Regions from separate parts of the Homo sapiens genome. Here regions 2, 3 and 4 are each linked to region 1. The links are contacts of gene promoters, found by promoter capture Hi-C in human tissues and cell types (Jung and others, 2019). All regions are on one chromosome and are shown on one strand. Each heading gives the region's core, a stretch centred on a gene start or on the middle of the fragment in contact. The rest is flanking DNA. Distances are from core to core; before and after follow the strand shown. Region 1 holds the start of ZNF134 (zinc finger protein 134). Region 2 overlaps ZNF772 (zinc finger protein 772). Region 3 overlaps ZNF547 (zinc finger protein 547). Region 4 overlaps ZNF17 (zinc finger protein 17).

Region 1 (3,493 bases), core at 874-3,373:
ATAAAATACTTCAAGGCAACTTAATATTTTGACCAATCATTAAGTGCTAGTATAAATTTCCCTTACTTTGTACATACATTTTTTAGTTCCTTCTGCGTACTTGCAAGGTGTACACTAGCCCTTGCACTAAACCAGCCTACCTGATACATATTCCTCTGAAGGGGAGCTGCAGTGATCCTTCATTAGAGATGTTCATCAATTCTGCTTACCTGAGGGTTTGGGTAACTGAGGCACCAATGCACTGGTTGGGGATGGGACTGCTCCACAGGCAGCGCCCATGAAGGCATGCTGAGCCTGTAGGGTGGCAAACCTACTGCATCCCTCACCTTGGTCTCCAGTGCAGGCCAGGCTACTTATGCTCTACAGCCCTCTCCTCTTGCTGACACTATAAGATATAATAAAATTCCTCTTCAAAGGTTTAGCCTGTTAACTTCCTTGTTCTTTGTTCTCAAACCTTTCTTGTTCTCCATGCCTCCTTGCCCCTAGTTACTATAAACAACCTTCCTGTAAGCACTAACCAATAATTCACATCTGTTCCCTTACTCACTTTGCACCCATTGCCCCCGCCAAAACCACACGTCCTACACAACTCACATGTCCCACCACTGTAACTCACCTTCCCCTTCCCTCTTCCTTATTTGGAAAATACTCACAAATACCCAATTGGCTCAGCTTAGATTAAGCGGTCCGACCCCAGCCCATGGGGGAGTGACACAGAGGAAGGTAGGGACTATGGGTTAGAGATAAAAACCCCTTCCCTCCTTTGTTCAGTGTGCTCTTGGGATCGTGATTAACACAGGCAGCACACTTGCACAGAAGTAAATTGCCTTGCTGAGAAAACTTTTGCCTGAGTGCTGGTTTCACTTTGCAGCACCAAGCATTGACTTCCAACAACACCATCTAGAATGCTTTCACATGCCAGGACCCCTCCTTTCTGGAAGGAATCTTAAGTGTCCACCCCTTCATCCCTGGCCTTCCACCCTAAACCCACCTCTCACTTCAGAGACCACACAAAATAACTTCCTTGAAATTCCACCCTCTAAATCTGATCTACTACAGGCTTTGACCTTATGCCTCACCCATTGAAGTCTCTAGCACAACTCCCTCTCTAGAACCCCAGACCTGCATGTTCAGCTACCCGTGATGAACCTCCAGTGCAGAACACCTTAGATTCACCAAGTCCAAAACCCAATTCCTGATGCCCCTGAAACGTGCTCCCTGCTGTGACTTACCAATTTCCATTCTTTCACACGTTCAGGAAGGAAAACAGGCCAAAAAAACCCTGGATAGCCCTTTCCTCCCTACATTCACTCACGACCACATCTGATGCGGCAGGAAACCCCATTGGTTCCATCTTTAAAAATCTACCCAGAATCTCATGACTTCCCCACCCAACCCCTCCTGCCACTGCTCTGGCCCAGCCACCACCGCAACACTTCTGGAGTTTGTTGCAGGGACCTCCTCAAACGTCTCCTTGCCTCCATCCTCATCGTTTCTACCTCACTGTAGTCGGTTTCCTCCTCAGCAAACATTGGAATACTTTAAAAATCCTTTTTCGGATCCCTTCCCTCCACCATTCAAAACCCGCCATGGCTCCTATCGTCCTCGCAATGAAGGAGCAACTTCTCCCCTCGACATTGCAGGCCTGACTACGGTTCACACACGCTCCCGACTGCTACGGGCTCAGTCCAGCTCCAAACCTATGCTCAGGCTGCCCCTCTGCCAGTCACACTCGCCCCCACCCACCAGCGCCCCGCTGCCTTGGACACTGGGGCCTGCGCTGCAGGGACTCAGACAGGCGCTCCTCATTTGGAACTTCAGGATTTGGGGCGGGCGAAAGTCTGGGAAAGGCAGCACCCACCTGCGCCGGGCCCATCACCGCGGCCGCCGCCATCACAGTTCGTAGACCACCCGGAGCCGCGAGGGGGTCCCAGGTCGCGGGACCCTGGCACCGCGGTCGTCCGTCCCCGGGGGCGCAGGCGGGGTCTTCGCTGGCGAGCCACTCCGCAGAGCGAACAGCGACTTCTCCCGCACCCTCCCGCTTCCGTCACCTCGGAACCGCCCAGCAACCCCGAGCTTCTGCTCCGATGGTTCCACCTAAGAGCCGACAAGATGTCCACCGCGAGGAAGATACCGGAAGTCCCGCCCAGAGAGCTTCCGTCCGCAGGGAGACGCCCCTAAGAGTGCCGCCGCCGGGCGGCGCACAGGTTTCTGGGCAATGCAGTTCTCATGTGCACTTGGCCGTGGTGACGGCTAACTCCCCTGCACGCTGGGCAAAGGCCAAATGGTACTGCGAGGGGCGCTGAGAAATTATGCCCTGAGACTCTGAGGTCAGGGCGTGGCTTCGCTCCTTTTAAAGGACCCTCAACCAGGTCTTGTGTAGTGAGGTCTGCAGGGATCCCCGAAATATTGGGATATATTCTTACAGATGTTCCCTGAAGCCACACCACCAAATGGACACACAACATCCAATGTCACTCTGAGTCCACTCATAGTTCAGTCAAATTTCCTTCATTTAAAAAATATGTGTACTGTAGAGGGAAGCTTTGAGTCAGTTTTGTGAGCCTCAGTTGGGTCAGAGTTAACAGAGAATTGTCCCCAGGCAGGGCCATGGAGTGGAAGAATGGTCTCCAGACAGTGGCTATGGAGGGATGCTGGAGCTCCCTGAGGCAAGTGGACTAATATAGAGCTCTTCCTCTGGTTTCCTCAGAAAAAAAATACCTGAGAGAACCATGAGGAGGAAGACAGGCGAGAGAAGGTGGTCAAGGAAGGCACCTTTCCTGCCTGTATGGTCACTAATGTCCAACCAAAGGAGAAATATTCTTTTATCCAAATGAGAGTTCCTAGCCCAAAAGTTGAGATATATCTATTTCCTTTTGGTGATGTTTCTTATCTGAAAAGAAGAACCATTATAAATGCTTTTATATGCCAAGACAGGGGCTGAAAATGTGGTGTCTGAACCCAGAAATAAAGATTTGGAAAATTGGGATCAGATTTCTTGGCTGGGAGGTGATTCTCATTTCACCTGCAATTACACCGACAGTGTCTGAATTGAGAATTGAGATTTATTTATGGTTTTAAAAAAGAAAAGGGCGAGTGTATGGGGAAAGAAAGACAAAAACATTTGTGAATTGTTTAAATTACTCAAAAGTTGTTTTGTGTTTTTTTTTTTTGAGACGGAGTCTTGCTCAGTCGCCCAGGCTGGAGTGCAGTGGTGCGACCATAGCTCACTGCAGGCTCCGCCTCCCAGGTTCACACTATTCTCCTGCCTCAGCCTCCGGAGTAGCTGGGATTACAGGCGCCTGCCACCATGCCCGGCTAACTTTTTGTATTTTTAGTAGAGATGGGGTTTCACCGTGTTAGCCAGGATGGTCTCGATCTCCTGACCTCGTGATCTGCCCGCCTCAGCCTCCCAAAGTGCTGGGATTACAGGAGAGCCCCCGCGCCCGGCCAAATTACTCAAAGTTAATAATTCTGTAGTTATTCACAGATA
Region 2 (3,441 bases), core at 535-3,034, 140 kb after region 1:
CCTAGAATTCTACAGAGATAGAGTAATTTAATATGTATTCTAATGTTTTTGGCTTCTTAAACTCTGAAATTAAGGCTCATGGTGGTGTTCTGTGTTTCATAGTTCATTTCTTTTCATTTGTACTTTGCTAAGAGTGTTCCATTGTAGAGAAATAGTTTCAAAGCAAGTGATCCAGGAGAGAACTCACACAAGAACAAAGCCACAGTATCTGTCATTACCTTAAACTGAAAGTGATGAGCCGTCATTTCTGCTATATTTCATAAGTAACCCTAGCTAATCCTGGTTAAAAGTGGAAGAGAACTACACAAAGGTGAAAATAGGGATTTGTGGGGCGTTTTCTTGGACTCTGGTGACCATAATCCTATATGGTTTTTTTCTTTTTCTGTTTTAGTTGTTTAATATGAATTACATTGACTGATTTTTTTAAATGTTAAGCCAACCTTGCATTTCTGTAATAATTCCCATTTGGTCATGATGTATTAGTCATTTAGTATATTGTTGAATTTGATTTGCTATTTTGTTTTGTTTTGTTTTGTTTTTTTGTAACAAGTTTTGCACCAATGTTCACGAGTGATATTTGTCCCTAACTTTCTTTCTTGCTTGCTTGCTTTTTTTTCTTTGTAATTTTATATCTTGCCCAGGTTTGGCTTTGGTATCAGCATAATGCCAGCTTTATAGAGTAAGTTGGGAAGTATTCCTGCTCTTCAGCTCTCTGGAAGAGTTTGTGAATAATTGGTATTATTTCTTCCTTAAATGTTTGGTAGAATTCACCAAGGAAGCTGTCTGGGCCTGGAGTTTGTTTTGTAGGAAAGTTTCTAACTATAAGTTTGATTTCTGTGGTAGATAGAGGGCTGTACAAGTTATATGTACATCTGTCTGTGTGTGTGTTGTCTGTCTGTCACTCTGGCCCTGAAGTGTGTTTTGTAGGACAGCATCTAACTACAAGTTTGATTTCCATGGTAGATGGAGGGCTATACTAGTTATATATACATCTGTCTGTCCGTCCATCTGTTTGTCACTCCATCCATCCATCTATCTCTAGAGTGAGCTTTGATGGTTTGTGTCTTTCAAGGAGTTTTTCTGTTTTATTTAAGTACTCAAATTTTTCAAAATATTATTTTCATACTTGTAGAATTTGTAGTGGTGCAACCTCTTCTATTCCTGATACTGGTAATGTCTATATTTTTCTTTTAACCTTGATTGGTTTGGGTAGAGATTTATCAATTTTACAATTTTATTGATCTTAAAGTACTTGGTATTATTGAATTTTCTGTTTTCTGATATTTTGGGATTTTTCTTTTCCATTTTGAGTTTTACTAATGCCTTCCGCTTTTATTGGATTTCATTTCTTTTGCTACTTTTTAACATGGAAGCTGAGGTCCTTCATTTCAAACCTTTGGGTTTTTTTCCCCTAATATGGGGAAGAGATGTTAATGTTAAAAATCTATCTGAGAACTGCTTTAATTACCTCCCATCAAGCTTGATGTGGTTTCATTTTTTTTTTTGAGACAGTGTCTTGCTCTGTCATCCAGGTTGGAGTGCAGTGGCGCGATCTCGGCTCACTGCAAGCTCTGCCTCCTGGGTTCACACCATTCTCCTGCCTCAGCCTCCCGAGTAGCTTGGACTACAGGCGCCTGCCACCATGCCTGGCTAATTTTTTGTATTTTTAGTAGAGACGAGGTTTCACCGTGTTAGCCAGGATGGTCTCGATCTCCTGATCTTGTGATCCGCCTGCCTCAGCCTCCCAAAGTGCTGGGATTACAGGCGTGAGCCCAGCCGATGTGGTTTCATTTTAGTTGAGTTTAGGATGTTTTCCAGTTAAAAAAATTCTTCTTGACACATGGCTCTTTTTAAATGTATGTTATTTAATTCCTAAATATTTGGGGATTTTGCTTATCTTTCTGGTAGTTTCTGCAATAATTCCATTGTGGTCAGAGTACATTAAGACTTGAATTATTTACATTTATTGAGATTTGCTTTGTGGCCCAGAATATGGGCTATCTTGGTATGAGTTACATGTTCACTTGAAATGTATACTGTACTCTCGTTTGATGAAGGGGTTCTACAAGTGTTGATTAGGTAAAAATGGTTGATGTTATTTAAGTTTTTTCTATCTTTATTGACATTCTGTGGTTTTGGTTCCAGCAATTATTTTAAGAGGATTGTTGACATCTCTGAATATTAAATTGGATTTACTTCTCTGCAGTTCTGTCAGATTTTGCTTCACATATTTTAGTATGTTTTTATTAGGTGAATAATAAATATTTCCTATTTTATGTCCACTTGATGTGTTGACCACTTTATCATTATGATCCTGTTAATCTCTGGTAATATTCTTTCTCTAAAATCTCCCTTGTCTGATACTGTTAACATGGTTTAATTTTGAATGGACACTGAATTTTAGGTACTGATTTTTTTTTAATTTTCTATAGATATTCTTGATTTCTTTTTTCTGTTACATGGTTAAGTTACTTGGAAACAATATGATCTTTTGGGGAGTCTTGATTCTAAACATTTCTCGATGAGATTATTGCAGCATACATTTTAAGACAAATTCCCCTCCCATTACTGAGACACAACCTTCCTATATTCTCTACCTAATGCTTCATGAGTTATGAGTTTTTTTTACTCAAGCTGGTTGAAATGAGAACTATCATGTTTTCTGTATAAGCCTTGGGAATTGCTTCCCGTATAATCCTTTCAGGTGGTTCTTTACCCATCCTCTGGTCTTTTTCTATATGCAAACACAGATTATACTCAGCTGAATACTTGGGGATGGCCCTCTATATCTCTGAAGTTTTTTCTCTCCTGTACTCTGCTCTGTAGACTCCAGCTACCTTGGCAAACCGAGACTCTTAGCTATGTCTCCTTAACACAGGATGACTTTTGGGCTCTGAGCTCTCCATCTTTGTACTAGGGCCTCAGAATTAATTTTCACAGTAACCTTATTTAGTTTTTTCTTTTTTGAGAAAATCTATGAACCCATGTTTTTTCTTTCTGATATAGTGGAAGGTCTATCAATTTTAATAATTTATTCAAGGTGTCTCCTTTTTTTAATCAGAAAGAACGTAAATCACATATTACAGATAGGAGCAATGAAACATAGTATAGTACTAGATAACTTTGAAACATATAATGGATAATGTGTGATTGTTTTAAACAACCCTTTCTCAGTAAGTTGAAACTTGGAAAACAAAAATCCATTGAAAGATACCAACTGACCAGGCTCACTCGAGATCTGAAAAATCCTCTACTAAAGATATTTAATACATATATCTATATATCTCTTAGAGAGAAAGAATAAGTCATATTCTAGTGAGATTTGTTAGGATTTTTTTTTTTTTTGAGACGGAGTCTCCCTCTATTGCCAGGCTGGAGTGCAGTGGCGCGATCTCAGCTCACTGTAACGTCCGCCTCCTGGGTTCAAGCAATTCTCCTGCC
Region 3 (3,436 bases), core at 937-3,436, 240 kb after region 1:
GGCAAGTGTGAGGGCCTTACCTAGTGAGGACAAAAGGGCCAAATTCTCCAGCATCACATCACGGTACAGCAATCTCTGAGCCTCATCGAGATGCCCCCACTCCTCCTGGGAGAAATATATGGCCACGTCTTCAAAAACCACATGACCCTGCCAAATTGGGAAAGATGAATACATGAGCAGCTTTTCAAACTGTATTTACTTAAGTTCTCTATTTATTTTCTACTTATATTTACCACCCATTAAACACAGGGACAAACTAACAGCTAAATGTGTTTCCATCTCCCCTACCATCCTGGGCACATATTCTTAACCATCTCCATCTCTAACTTTCTCAAACCAAGTCAGTATTTCCCATGCTCTAAATCAACCCAGGGACAGGTACTGCACAACTAGGGACAGTCCCAATAGCCCAGGTGTCCTGGAATTACTAAAACTAGCCAAACTATCCTGACAGCCAGCCCTGCCTTGTTTCCCTTGGAAACCCCAACAGCATCTGTGGACTAAACTAAACTCACTCCAATTTTCCTCCTGATCAAATCTGGTGTTTCACCGTGTGGCCCTGTGTTATGTGGTATGTAACCTCCTTAGGGAAACGTAAGGAATAAATATCTTCTTTCAGTGTCATTGGCCTGTCCCTGGCATCACTCACTCACATCCATAAATTAAAACTCCATGGGGGCCAGGCACAGTGGCTCATGCCTATAATCCCAGCACTTTGGGAGGCTGAGGCGGGCAGATCACCTGAGGTCAGGAGTTCAAGACCAGCCTGGCCAACACAGTGAAATCCCATCTCTACTAAAAATACAAAAATTAGGTGGGCATGGCGGCACATGCCTGTAGTCCTAGCTACTTGGGAGATTGAGGCAGAACTGCTTGAATCCAGGAGGTGCAGGTTGCAGTGAGCCAAGATCATGCCACTGCACTCCAGCCTGGGTGACAACACAGCAAGACTCCATCTAAAAAAAAAAAAACAAAAAACCCCAATGGGTACAATCACTGCTACTTTTCTCTCTCCAGGAACTCATCCCTCTCCCCTACACCTCCTTTCCTTCCTCAATCTCTACACCCTCCCAATGTGGAAGAGAAACCACATCCAGGTGGCATGAGTGACTTTTCTCTCCATATTGACATTGGCCACCGTGTCCAGCACACAGAGGAAACAGATGGAAGATAAGGTAGAAAAGGAATGTGGGCCTCCCGTGGGGGGATCCATCCTCTCCTGCCAGCCAGTTTCCATGGAGTCACCCAGATCTTGCCTCCCAAGACAACCAAACTCAGACTCATCCTCCTCCCTTGAGCTACCAGGGCCAGGGCCTGAGGCCCTCCATTCACACTCCTCCTGCCTGCACATCACTCTTTGGACAGCACTCCAATCCCATCTCTCACACCTCCACTCCAGTCAATTCCACAGACACCTCCCAGCCCACACCACAGGCATTTCCTTCACCTCCTAACAGGCCACTCTGCACACAGAAACCAGGTGGTGCACGGCAAATACGCTCAGCATCCAATTCACTCCCAGTCCTGCCCCAGAACACCAAAGTTCCCTAGCACCGGGGGCAGCCCTAAGCCCTGGGTTGAAGGTTCCCTACATGGCCCTGTTTCTCACTTCACTGTCAGGTGCCCAAACCATGTGAGGACTTCACATACTCTCAGCTGTGTCCTGCCTCATGGACACAGGATTGTAAGTTTCCTGAGGCCTCCGAGTTATGCTTCCTGTTAAGCCTGAAGAACTATGGGCTGGGTGCGGTGGCTCACGCCTGTAATCCCAACACTTTGGGAGGCTGAGGAGGATGGATCACGAGGTCAGGAGATCAAGACCATCCTGGCCAACATGGTGAAAGCCCATCTCTACTAAAAATACAAAAATTAGCTGGGCGTAGTGGGGTGAGTCTGTCGTCCCAGCTATTCAGGAGGCTGAGGCAGAAGAATCGCTTGAACCTGGCAGGGAGAGATTGCAGTGAGCCGAGATTGTGCCACTGCACTCCAGCCTGGGCCACATCTCAAAAAAAAAAAAAAAAAAAAAAAAGAACTGTGAGTCAATTAAACTTCTTTTCTTCATAAAGTACCCAGTCTCAGGTAGTTCTTTGTAGCAATATGAAAACAGACTAATAGAATTCCCATCCTCATCTCATTCCAACTGATGCTTAGCAACTCTCCGACCTCACCCTATTACCCTCCTCAGCAACCCCATCATGTCCACTCTCCTTCAGAAGTCTTTCTCACTCCTATACCCCACCATCTCACATACACTCATCCCCACAAACACTCCATTCCCTCATTTGTCTAGTGACTCCTCCACCACTGCACAGCTACCCAGTAAGAGACCCAGTTCTCATGCCCCATTCCAATTCTCTGTCTTCGAACAGCACTGCCACCATAACCTAGAGATGCTGTCACCTAAACTGAATCCATGGCTTCATCCTGGTCCATACGACAGCCACCATAGTGTGGACGTCTCCAACCTGAACTCCTCCACCAGGAGTCTCTGAGACATCTGTGGCTTGAACAAACACTGACTCCTCACACTCACTCTGAAAATTCCTAATACTGCTGACTTCTCCCATCTTAGCTGATGGAGCATCTATGCTTCCAAACAAAAACCATGGGGCCACTCCTGATTCCCCTTCTATCCCACCCCCCCAGCTGCCTCACTCTCTACATCATAAAATGTGGGCAGCTCCAGTTCAAAACACATCCTGAAGCCACCGCTACTCTTGACAAGTCACCACCAACATCCACCTAGACTGCTGCAGGAACATCCTCTCAGATCTCCCTGCCATTACCCTCACCTCCACAGTCTGTCCTCCACTCAGACGCCAAAGAAAGTTCCTTAAGCTAGGGTCCTATCACTGCCCTCTTCTGCTTCAAATCTTCCCCATCTACCACCTCCCTTAGATTAGAGACCCAGGACCTAGGCTGTCATTCCAGGCCTGATGTTTGTGTGTCTCTAGCCACCTCCCACTCTGCTCCCTATTCCTATCCGATATAACAGACACTTGCAGTTCCCTAAAAATCCAGTTCAGTCTCTCCTCTAAACACTGAAACATTCTTAATCTTGTGCCCATGACACTCTGACAGATGTTACCACGTCAACTGTCAAAAATGGGAGCCACTCCACATAATCCAGGGCCATCCAGGTAAGGTGTCACAGTAAACTTAAAACAATCAAACAAAAATCCCAGACCTAATTTAAGATACTAGAACTGGTGGAATCACTCACTTTTCAGACATAAGAGAGGGAGAAAGACAGAAAGAGAGTCTCTGGACACCACTTTTCTTTACATGGAGGTGCCAAAACCATCTATGAGATAACTGGTAGGTGAAAGGTAGAAAACACTCCACTCACCTGTGCAGGGTTCATTTCTGCCATCGCCAGGGGACCCTGAAGGAAGAGGGAAACCGTGAGAAATGGGCAACGATGGGAAGATCTTAC
Region 4 (3,362 bases), core at 51-2,550, 190 kb after region 1:
TAGGATATACCATACAGCCTAGGCATTCACGCAACCCCCCCACCACCAAAAAAAGAAAGAAAATCACCTAATAACACTTTTCTCAGGACACTTCCCCACTGTTAAGCAACACATGACTAACAGAATTTTATTCAGCCTTTAAAAAGGATGGAAATTCTAATGGATTAGAACATGAAACCTTAAAAATATAACGTTAAGCAAAATAAGCCACAAAATAAACCACAAGAAGACCAAAACTTAAGTTTTCTTATATGAGGTACCCGGACTAGTAAAATTCATACAGAGCGGTGCTTGTCAAGAGGCTGGATGGAGTGAGGAATAAGGTTTTAAAAGGTATAGACTTAGTTTCATAAGTTGAAAAGACTTCTAGATATTCATTGCACAATGTGAATGACTTAACAGTACTGAACTATACACTTTAACATGGTTAAGATGTTAGATTTTATGTTATCTGTATTCTACAAGAATACTTTTTTTAAAACGTAGGTCCCAGTGCTAAATCAGAGTAGATTTCTGTGTGAAGTCTTTCCCCATCTGCTTTATATATACATTCTTTATCTGGTGTGAACTTTCTGGTGCTGAATGAGATGAGAATTTTGGTTAAAGACTCTTCCACATTCACTGCACTGATAAGGTCTCTCTCCAGTGTGAATTCTCCGATGTTTAATGAGGCTGGAGTTGTATCTAAAGACTTTCCCACATTCACTGCACTCATAAGGCTTTTCTCCAGTATGAACTCTCTCATGACTAATGAGTGTGGAGCTGTCCATAAAAAATTTCCCACATTTGCTGCATTTGTAAGTTCTTTCCCTAGTGTGAACTTTTTGGTGCCGAATGAGGTGGGAATTTTGGCTAAAAACTCTCCCACACTCAGTGCACTCAAAAGACCTTTCTCCAAAGTGATTTCTCCGATGTCTAATATGATTTGAGTTGTGCCTAAAGAATTTCCCACATTCACTACACTCATAAGGCCTTTCACCAGTGTGAATTCTCTGATGTGTATCAAGTGTGGAGCGACATCTAAAGGATTTCCCACAAATGCTGCATTCAAAAGGTCTTTCTCCAGTGTGAACTCTCTGATGACTCTTCAGTGTACAGCTGTCCACAAAGAATTTGCCACATTCACTGCATTCATAAGGCCTCTCTCCAGAGTGAACTCTCTGATGTCTATTCAGTGTGAAGCAATACCTAAAGAATTTCCCACATTTGTTGCATTCATAAGGCTTTTCTCCAGTATGAACTCTCTGATGAATAATGAGTGTGGAAGTGTCCATAAAGAACTTCCCACATTCACTACACTCATAAGGCTTTTCTCCAGTGTGAACTTTCTGATGTCTAATGAGTGTGGAACGGTATCTAAAGAATTTCCCACATTCGTTGCATTCATAAGGTTTTTCTCCAGTATGAACTCTCTGGTGAATAATGAGTGTGCAGCTGTCCATAAAGAATTTCCCACATTCACAGCAATAAAAAGGCCTTTCTCCAGTGTGAACTTTCTGATGTCTAATGAGTGCTGAACTGTACATAAAGTATTTCCCACATTCATTGCATCCATAAGGCCGTTCTCCAGTATGAATTTTCTGGTGACCAACAAGGTGAGCCTGTGTAAGGAAGGCCTTCCCACATTCACTACACACATAAGGCCTTGGCCTGGTGTGAATCCTCTGGTGCTGAAGTAGGTGAGACTTTCTAAGAAAAGCTTTCCCACATTCACTGCACTCATAAGGCCTTTCTCCAGTGTGAATTTTCTGGTGTTGAACAACATTGTATTTGAGGCTGAAGGCTTTTCCACATTCACTACACTTATAAGGCCTTTCTCCAGTATGATTTCGCTGATGTTTAATAAGGTCGGAGTTGTACCTAAACAATTTGCCACATTCACTGCACTCATAAGGCCTTTCCTCTGTGTGGATTTTCTGGTGCTCAAACAGTGTATGTTGGTGGCAAAAGTCTTTCCCACATTGGGTGCAGCTGTAATTATTCTGTCCACTTTGAAAGGCCTCCACACCATGAGTGTCCCTGTGTGGCTTCCACCCACTGTGAAGAGCCTGTTGTTGAAGATCTGAATCACCAGTAAAATCCTTGCCACCCTGCATGCATGTGAGGTTCCTCTTTGCCAGGTGAACACTGTCATTCACAAACGAAGGCCTCCCTTCATCACTTCTGGTGAGCTTCTCTCTAAGATGCTCCTTTTGGTGCAGGTAAAGCTTGGCTGTACGCTTGGGGTGTGTTCCGTCATGCTCAGCCAGGTGTAGAATGTCCTTCAGAAGTGAGCTACATGTCTCACAGGGCTGGGCCTTCTGGGTGGACAAAGCTGGCTTTAAAGTTGTGACCTGTGACACTCCTACAGAAACACATTGCTTGGAAGGTGCCTCCTCATCCTTGGCTCCATGCCAACAACCTAAAACAGAAATGCTCATGAAGTGCATGATGACTTTGGAGGGAAGAGGCAGCCCCATAACAAATGTCTGTCAGACCAACTCACAAATAAGACCATGGGATTGGTGACAGGCATGGGACATTAAAGCCAGTGAGAGGAAAGCCTACTGGGCAGAACCGGGACTGACAGAAACCCATAACGAAAGAGTCCTGATGATGGGGAACAACATAGGGAGTGGTACAGTGCAGAGCACAGAAGTGGAGTCCCCAAGTTACTCCTCAGTGAATGGCTTTCAACAGGCCATAGCTTCTGGTGAACAATGTGTAGAAGACTGTGTCCAGACCCAGAGAGATCTGATGTGACAGTAGAGCTGGTGTTCAGGGACTGCTGAAATATATACATCCAGACCTCACAACACCTTAAGTACAGGTCATATGTTGAGGGCACTACAAAGGGAACAGTAAAAGGAACAGGTGGCTGGGTGCAGTGGCTCACACCTATAATCCCAGAACTTTGGGAGGCCAAGGCAGGCGGATCAGCTGAGGTCAGGAGTTCGAGACCAGCCTGACCAACATGGAGAAACACCGTCTCTACTAAAAATACAAAATTAGCCAGGTGTGGTGGCGCATGCCTGTAATCCCAGCTATTTGGGATGCTGAGGCAGAAGAATCGCTTGAACCCGGGAAGCAGAGGTTGCAGTGAGTCAAGATCGCGCGCACCATTGCAAGAGCGAAACTCCATCTCAAAAACAAAAACAAAAACAAAAAAAAAACAAAAAACGGGAACAGGTGAGAGGTGGAGGCCAGAGACGTAGGGTCAGAGGTGGGAGCCAGGAGATGAAAGTCAAAAGAGAGATCACAATAGGGAAGAAAAGAGAGACATGCGGTGTGGCCACTGGCAGGGGCATCAAACTGGATTGATTCCCAGTGTGATGTGAACCCAGCCCTGTCATCACACCCCTTCTGAGCTCCCATCCACCAGG

Evidence for each region. Contacts are between HindIII fragments. The study calls those that stand out against the background at their distance.
Region 2: a contact is called between a fragment that was not itself captured here and the fragment with the promoter of ZNF134 in region 1, in 1 of the 25 tissues and cell types used here (neural progenitor cells).
Region 3: a contact is called between a fragment that was not itself captured here and the fragment with the promoter of ZNF134 in region 1, in 2 of the 25 tissues and cell types used here (dorsolateral prefrontal cortex and hippocampus).
Region 4: a contact is called between a fragment that was not itself captured here and the fragment with the promoter of ZNF134 in region 1, in 1 of the 25 tissues and cell types used here (bladder).

Annotation. Positions count from the first base shown.
Region 1 is chr19:57,612,872-57,616,364 of GRCh38, reverse strand. It overlaps ZNF134 (zinc finger protein 134), which reads right to left and starts at 2,123. Exons shown (of 3, transcript NM_003435.5): 1 at 1,862-2,123. RefSeq lists a silencer at 1,869-1,918 and an enhancer at 2,049-2,228. The HindIII fragment of the contact is 8,655 bases long and covers 1-3,493 here.
Region 2 is chr19:57,468,427-57,471,867 of GRCh38, reverse strand. ZNF772 (zinc finger protein 772) reads left to right here. Exons shown (of 4, transcript NM_001144068.2): 4 at 1-2,282. Among named protein-coding and RNA genes, the nearest start is that of ZNF772, 7.4 kb to the left of the region's middle. The HindIII fragment of the contact is 7,443 bases long and covers 1-3,441 here.
Region 3 is chr19:57,368,493-57,371,928 of GRCh38, reverse strand. ZNF547 (zinc finger protein 547) reads right to left here. Exons shown (of 4, transcript NM_173631.4): 2 at 3,350-3,385; 3 at 21-147. The coding sequence starts at 3,373. Among named protein-coding and RNA genes, the nearest start is that of ZNF547, 6.7 kb to the right of the region's middle. The HindIII fragment of the contact is 8,803 bases long and covers 1-3,436 here.
Region 4 is chr19:57,418,674-57,422,035 of GRCh38, reverse strand. ZNF17 (zinc finger protein 17) reads right to left here. Exons shown (of 4, transcript NM_001330617.2): 4 at 102-2,401. The coding sequence ends at 555. Among named protein-coding and RNA genes, the nearest start is that of ZNF17, 9.2 kb to the right of the region's middle. The HindIII fragment of the contact is 3,428 bases long and covers 1-3,014 here.